2 separate regions of the Homo sapiens genome follow, and region 2 is linked to region 1. The links are contacts of gene promoters, found by promoter capture Hi-C in blood cells and fetal thymus (Javierre and others, 2016). All regions are on one chromosome and are shown on one strand. The core of a region is centred on a gene start or on the middle of the fragment in contact, and the rest is flanking DNA. Distances in the headings are between cores, read along the strand shown. Region 1 overlaps CRELD2 (CRELD disulfide isomerase 2). Region 2 holds the start of TUBGCP6 (tubulin gamma complex component 6).

Region 1 (3,607 bases), core at 573-3,072:
AGGGCCCATAGGTTGGACCCCTGAAACCCACCTGGTCACGTCTTCAGGTTCTCGCCCAAGGCAGGGCCCTCCCCTCCTCCCCCAAGCGGCACGTGAGCCCTGTTCAGGGACAGCAGAGCCACCAGCCCAGGACCGGACCTGCTGCCTCTGCGGACCTCGGCAGCCCTGGTCACTCCCGGCTCTGGCAGGACAGGTGCAAACTCAGTGGTAAAGGTCCGTCCTGATTAATGAGACAAACCCACGCCCGTTCTCCTCCTGATTACCTACAATGGTCAATTTTATTACAAAGAACTGTATCAAAATATACAAGTCTGTTTAAGAACAACCAAGAAATGCAGCTGTTTAAGGGACAAATGAGAATCAACCGTTAGAGAGCAGGCAGCCTCTCCCCGCCGCTGTCCACTGCAGGAGACGGCATCCTCAGGGCCACATTTTCCACGGGACATCCTTCTGAATAATTTAAAGGGTAAGTCCGGCACATTACAGGTCTTCGCGGGAGGGCAGCTGTGTCGGGCTTTCTCCTTCTGTGGCTTCTGTCAGAAAACAAGCATAGGTCGTCAAGGCTGAGCACAAAGGGCCCTGGGGATGAGGCCTTTCCCAGGACAGCAGCGCATGTGCAGGGCCTGCCCGTCCAGTCCTGGCTCAAAGCCCCGGACGCAGCCATCCAAGGGCAGCTCGGAGACCCCCGTTTCCCACAAAGCAGATGAGAGATGAGGCAGACGGCATTTCAGAGCCCCCACGCTGCCGTGGGTGTGGAGGATGCAGAGTTGGGAGCGGCAAGGGGTTCCTTGCGGCCTGGCAGAATGGGAGCCTGAACAATGGTTGTGGCGGGAGGAGAAAGAGGGGACCGAGGGTGGGGGAGGTAGGAGAAAGAGGGGACTGAGGGTGGTACGGGGAGGGAGGGGCAAGAGGGGACCGAGGGTGGGGGGGAGGGAGGAGAATGAGGGGACGGGGGGGAGGGAGGGGCAAGAGGGGACCCGGGGTGGGGGGAGGGAGGGGCAAGAGGGGACCCGGGGTGGGGGGAGGGAGGGGCAAGAGGGGACCCGGGGTGGGGGGAGGGAGGGGCAAGAGGGGGGGAGGGAGGGGCAAGAGGGGACCCGGGGTGGGGGGAGGGAGGGGCAAGAGGGGACCCAGGGTGGTGGGAGGGAGGGGCAAGAGGGGACCGAGGGTGGGGGGAGGGAGGGGCAAGAGGCAGGGCCAGCCCAGGGCAGAGGGGACCGAGGGGGTAGCAGGCAGCCTTGTCTTCTGGCCTGTCCGTCTCTGCTAACCCCTCAGTTCTGTCTTGCTGTTGCTGTTTACTACGATGCTTCTAGATGTGGAATTGCTTTTATTTGTCCTGCTCAGGAAACAGCTTCTGGAATCTGAATCGTGCCTTATTCATTCTGAAAAACCCTTAGCCAATATCTCCTTGAACACTGCTTCTTTCCCACTCTCTATATTCTAGACTTCTGTGAGGACTGTCACGGGCAGATTTATGTCCCCCAAAACACGCTGAAGTCTTTACTCCCAGTACCTGTGATTGTGACCTTGTTTGGAAATAGGGTCTTTACCACTGGCCAGGTTAACATGAGGGCATTAGTGACTGGTGTCCTTACAAAGAGGGGAGGTTTGGACAGAGACAGACACCCGCATGGAGACCACGTGAAGACACGGGGAGCAGGTGGCATCCCCAGGCGAGGACAGAGGCCCGGAACAGACGCGCCCACCCAGCCTCCCAAGGAAGCAGCCTGCTTGCGTCTGGGCCTCTGACTTCTGGCTCCTGTGAGCGGCACATTTCTGTTGCTGGAGCCCTAAGTTCCTGGTTCTTGGTAAGGTAGCCCCAGGAAACAGGTGTGGGGGACCCGCTTGCCCTCCACCACTTCCTGCCTGTCCCTGTCTCTGCGGCACCCTGGGCAGCTTCCCCGGATGACTTTTCCAGCTCTTTAGCTGCCTCTTCTCCTGCGTCTGCTCCTCTGCTCATCGCCCGCTGAGGTCTGAGCTTCAGAGACTTCCCCCTTCATCGCCTGAACTTCCGTTTGAGCTGTGAACCTGGGGCTTCATCCTCAGGAAGCCAGTACCTCTCGCGCAAGCGTGCCCACACAGAGATGTCATGCACCTGTCTTCCGGGAATCCCCCTCTCACCATCTCAAGGCCACCATCTGTGTGGATTTCAGACCAAGCAGCCAGTCTACGTGCAAGCCCTGCGGCCCAGGGGAGGGCAGCCTGTGTGGAGGGCAGCCGTGCCACTCACCAGCCTCTGCCGGCGGCACACAGGCATCTTCCGTTTCTTCGAAGCCGTCAGGACACACACAGACGTAGCTCCCTGGAGTATTGTAGCAGTTTTCGTTTTTCCTCACACAGGTTTTTTCTGCTAGTGAGCACTCGTCCACATCTAAAATGAAAAGACTCCGTTTTAATAATTACTTTGCTCAGCAGACGCGCAGCGGATTATGAAATTCATTCATTCAGATTCATTCACATAAAGAAAGCACAACGATGACAAACGTCACGTTACAGAAAGGAGCAAAGATCAGGAAAGGCTTCGAGAGGGAAGAATTTCACGTCTCCAAGTTGGGCCCTCAACTGGTAGAAAATGCAGAGAAGAGACCTCCAGGTGGGGCCGGAAGGCCAGCATGCGCCCAGGAAGCCCACTTTCTTTTCCTTTTTTTTTTTTTTTTGAGGCGGAGTCTCGCTCTGTCGCCCAGGCTGGAGTGCGGTGGCGCGATCTCCTCTCACTGCAAGCTCCGCCTCCCGGGTTCACGCCATTCTGCTGCCTCAGCCCCCCGAGTAGCTGGGACTACAGGCGCCCGCCACCACGCCCGACTAATTTTTTGTATTTTTAGTAGAGATGGGGTTTCACCGTGTTAGCCAGGATGGTCTCGATCTCCTGACCTCGTGATCCCCCCGCCTCAGCCTCCCAAAGTGCTGGATTACAGGCATGAACCATGGCGCCTGCCCAGGAAACCCACTTTCTCCACCGGGTTCCATCCACGCCCAGGCTCACCCAGGCAGCCCACAACCATGGCAGGCCTGGACTTAAGCCTCGGGGCAATCGCCACCCAGGAGCTGGAGGGAGAGCAGAGGCGGTGGACCTGGGGAACGAGGCCACCGGCGAGAGGCTGGTGCAGCAGCGCCATCCACACCAGGGTCGGCCATGCAGAGCCCGTCCCCCACCCCCACTGCTTCTGTGTCTCACGTGGACCTCAGGGCGAGTGCACAGTGACCCTGGGGGAGCCACGTCTGCAGGACGGGTCTCAACTGCTTCCCATCCCTGGCAGTACCTGCTGGGGCCATTCACATCATGGTCACTTGGGAAGGGTCCACCAGCGTCCAGCACAGACCCCGTCACTGACCTGCACACTGTCCGTGCTCCCTCGCGTAGCCAGAGATACACTCTTTACAGTTTCCTGGGCCTTCCCCTGTGCAGCCCACACAGCTGGAGTCACACTCTGCAACAGGGAGCCAGCGTCAGACCCCGACATGCACAAGGCACCAGTGCCCGTCAGACCCCGACATGCACAAGGCACCGGTGCCGCCAGGATTTGGGTTTTCTCCTCATTCATCACCAAGTGACTTTATAACGATCTGTCTCTGTCTCCCGGCAAAAGCACAGACTCGCGTCCTGCTG
Region 2 (3,607 bases), core at 302-2,801, 320 kb before region 1:
ACTGAATGGAGCCTTCCTCAGCTGGGGTGTGGGAGAAGGGCTGCTGGAGGCAATGCCAGGTGGGTCTCCAGCACAGAGGCTCAGCAGTCACAGCACCCCTGCCCATGGCCCCGTGAATGCTCTTCCACCTCTGCCTCTGCGGTTTGGGCTCAGGAGGGTGAGCAGGGCCTTACACTTATGCACCTGTGTCCTGGAAGGAGGAGTCTGTGGCTGAACATCAGGGGCAAGGAGGCGGCTGCCCTATCCATGTTCCATGTCTCCACGCCACTGCCAGTGGTGAGTGACCATGCCACGCGGCAAGGCAGGTGCTGGGGAGCCCATGGATGTGTACAGCTGCTGTTTGCTGGCATTGTCATGATAGCAGGCCTCTGGTCCTTCCTGTCTCCCTGCTCCTACTCCAGGGGCCCTGAGATTGGGAGGTTGGGAGGCCAGAGCCAGCAGGTGTCCGTAGATGAGGAGCTGGGCTCTGCTGTCCCCACAGATGACCGGTGGTTTCCTGAGCTGCATCTTGGGCTTGGTGCTGCCCCTGGCCTATGGCTTCCAGCCTGACCTGGTGCTGGTGGCGCTGGGGCCTGGCCATGGCCTGCAGGGCCCCCACGCTGCACTCCTGGCTGCAATGCTTCGGGGGCTGGCAGGGGGCCGAGTCCTGGCCCTCCTGGAGGAGGTAAGCTGGGCAGGGTGGAGGTGCTGCGGGGTGGGACGAGGGAAAGGACCAGTGACTGCTTCCGTCTTCGCCCCTGGTCCAGAACTCCACACCCCAGCTAGCAGGGATCCTGGCCCGGGTGCTGAATGGAGAGGCACCTCCTAGCCTAGGCCCTTCCTCTGTGGCCTCCCCAGAGGACGTCCAGGCCCTGATGTACCTGAGAGGGCAGCTGGAGCCTCAGTGGAAGATGTTGCAGGTGAGGCTGACTGCGGAGGCATGGCCCTGCCCTGGGGCCTGGCTCTGCCGCACAGATCGGTGGGGAGGGCAGGGCAGGGGAGTGCCCTGAACCAGCTCCAGCGCCGGAGGCCAACTGCGCGCCTCTTCTCGGCTCCTCCTGTAGTGCCATCCTCACCTGGTGGCTTGAAATCGGCCAAGGTGGGAGCATTTACACCGCAGAAATGACACCGCACGCCAGCGCCCCGCGGCCGCGATCCGGACCCCAAGCCCACGGCTCCCTCGACTCTGGGGCACGGAACCCCGCCCACTCCCAATCCCCGCGCCCCGCCCTCTCCCACCCGTGCTTCCCCCGCTCCACCCCTCACCTCACCTCGCCCCCGCCCCACCCATCGCGCCCCGGCCCGTCCCATCGAGGCCCATGCAACCCACGCTCGGTCCCGTTCCGGCCCCTGCGCCCCGCTGCGCTTCGCTCCCCGCCCTTGCGCCGTTAGTAAACATCGCTCAAACGAAACGCTGGCTCTGCCTCCTTTACTGAGCACGCTCGGCCTCGGTCTCTCACCCGCGGTGCCGGACTCAGGCCGGAAGTATGCCGCGGCCCAGGCCTCACCAACTTCACGCGCTGCCGGCGTTCCCGTGACGTATTTCCGGCGCGCCCGCCCTAGTGCTCTTCACACTGGCGCGGCTGTGACGCGACGGAGGCGGCGAGAGCGGCAGCCGTGGGCACTTTCCACGGGTGAGGCCTGGAGAACGGGTGGACGTGCAGGCCAGAACCCGGGACCCACCCGGCTGAGCCCCCAGACTCTCCGCTGCCCACGACCCTCGGAGTGGCACCCTCTCCTGGCCGTCTCCTCTCGTGGGTCCCGAAGAACGGGTGCAAAGCCGAGTTCGTCCGCTGTACTGCGCGGGCGCGCGTTTCGTTCTTCGGTTTTGCCACGGTTCTGTGACTCCCTAAAGGTTGAGGGCTACTGAATTAGAAGAAACGCCGAGCTGGCTTCTGGTGGGCTGCCGGGCGCCGGGCAGCGTGCTTGGACTGGGGAGGGCAGGGCGTGTTTACTCTGAGTAGAGCAACCGCAAGACCTCCTTTAAAAAATACCAGTTCTGAGCTTCGGCATTGGAGAGGCCGCCTGTCATTCAGCCTCTTCGGACCCTCTCTCACTCCCTGTCTTCCGGAGCGTGAGTGAAGCCCGGGTGAGGTGTTTTCCCACACGCCGGGGGCCCGGAGCTGAGAAGGGGCATGGCCAGCATCACGCAGCTGTTCGACGACCTGTGTGAGGCCCTCCTGCCGGCTGCCAAGACTCACCTGGGCCAGCGCAGTGTGAACCGGAAGAGGGCAAAGCGGAGCCTCAAGAAGGTGGCCTACAATGCTCTTTTCACAAATCTTTTTCAAGATGAGACTCAACAGCTGCAGCCTGACATGTCAAAACTACCAGCGAGAAACAAGATCCTCATGTTGTCCTTTGACTTGAGAGTGGGTGGCCTGGGCCCCAAGGCCGACCGTTTGGAGGAGCTTGTGGAGGAGCTGGAAGCAGCCCCTTGCTGTCCGCTTTTGGAGGTGGGGTCTGTTTTGGACCTCCTGGTTCAGCTGGCAGGGAGTGGTCCCCCTCAAGTTCTGCCGAGAAAACGAGACTACTTCCTTAACAACAAGCATGTGGGGAGAAACGTTCCGTACAGCGGCTATGATTGCGACGACCTGAGTGTGTTTGAGATGGACGTTCAGTCTCTGATCTCCAGAGAAGAGTGTTTGTGTCACAGCATGATCCAGGAAACACTTCAGGTTATGGAGGCTGCTCCAGGCACTGGCCTGCCCACCGTCGGGCTCTTCTCATTTGGTGACCCTTGTGGTGACAGGTTCGAGAGAGACACCCGGGTCTCGCTCTTCGGGGCCCTTGTGCACAGCCGCACTTATGACATGGACGTCCGACTGGGCCTGCCCCCCGTGCCAGACAATGCGGACCTCTCTGGGCTGGCTATTAAGGTAGAATGTTTAGTTTTTCCTCTTTCATCTCTCTCGGGGTTTGGAAAATGCTTCCTGTGACCTTTCTTCTTCTTCTTCTTCTTCTTTTTTTTTTTTTTTTTGAGACAGTGTCTCACTCTGTCACCCAGGCTGGAGTGCAGTGGCGCGATCTTGGCTCACCTTAACCTCCACTTTCTGGGCTCAAGCAATTCTCGTACCTCAGCCTCCCGAGTAGCTGAAATTACAGGCACCTGCCACCACGCCCGGCTTAATTTTTTTTTTTTTTTGAGATGGAGTCTTGCTCTGTTGCCCAGGCTGGAGTGCCGTGGCGCGATCTCGGCTCACTGTAACCGCCGCCTCCCGGGGTCAAGTGATTCTCCTACCTCAGCCTCCCGAGTAGCTGTAGCTGGGATTTAGGTGCATGCCACCACGCCCAGCTAAGTTTTGTATTTTTAGTAGAGATGGGGTTTCACCATGCTGGCTAGGCTGGTCTTGAACTCCTGACCTCTTGATCCGCCTGCCTCGGCCTCCCAAAGTGCTGGGATTACAGGCGTGAGCCACCATGCCCAACTAATTTTTGTATTTTTAGTAGAGGCGGGGTTTCACCATGTTGGCCAGGCTGGTCTCCAACTCCTGACCTCAAATGATCCACCCGTCTCGGCCTCCCAAAGTGCTGGGATTACAGGCATGAGCCACTGTGCCCGGCCCGGTGACCTTCCTTTTATCATGGTAAAAGGGGGGATAGTCTGGTGGCTGCATTGTCCTGAGGTGGG

The links. The method cuts DNA at HindIII sites, captures the fragments that hold promoters and counts their contacts. A CHiCAGO score of 5 or more calls a contact.
Region 2: a contact is called between the fragment with the promoter of TUBGCP6 here and a fragment that was not itself captured in region 1, in 3 of 17 cell types (endothelial precursors, erythroblasts and M0 macrophages). The highest score is 7.9, in endothelial precursors.

Annotation. Positions count from the first base shown.
Region 1 is chr22:49,924,181-49,927,787 of GRCh38, reverse strand. CRELD2 (CRELD disulfide isomerase 2) reads right to left here. Exons shown (of 10, transcript NM_024324.5): 8 at 3,333-3,428; 9 at 2,231-2,371; 10 at 251-533. The coding sequence ends at 481. Among named protein-coding and RNA genes, the nearest start is that of CRELD2, 7.4 kb to the right of the region's middle. RefSeq lists enhancers at 1,718-1,847, 1,858-1,957, 2,058-2,137, 2,218-2,447. The HindIII fragment of the contact is 8,169 bases long and covers 1-3,607 here.
Region 2 is chr22:50,242,967-50,246,573 of GRCh38, reverse strand. TUBGCP6 (tubulin gamma complex component 6) reads left to right here and starts at 1,551. Exons shown (of 25, transcript NM_020461.4): 1 at 1,551-2,855. The coding sequence starts at 2,115. HDAC10 (histone deacetylase 10) reads left to right here. Exons shown (of 20, transcript NM_032019.6): 17 at 198-276; 18 at 482-664; 19 at 747-899; 20 at 1,044-1,391. The coding sequence ends at 1,067. RefSeq lists a silencer at 1,179-1,248 and enhancers at 1,719-1,768, 2,179-2,458, 2,032-2,962. The HindIII fragment of the contact is 66,555 bases long and covers 1-3,607 here.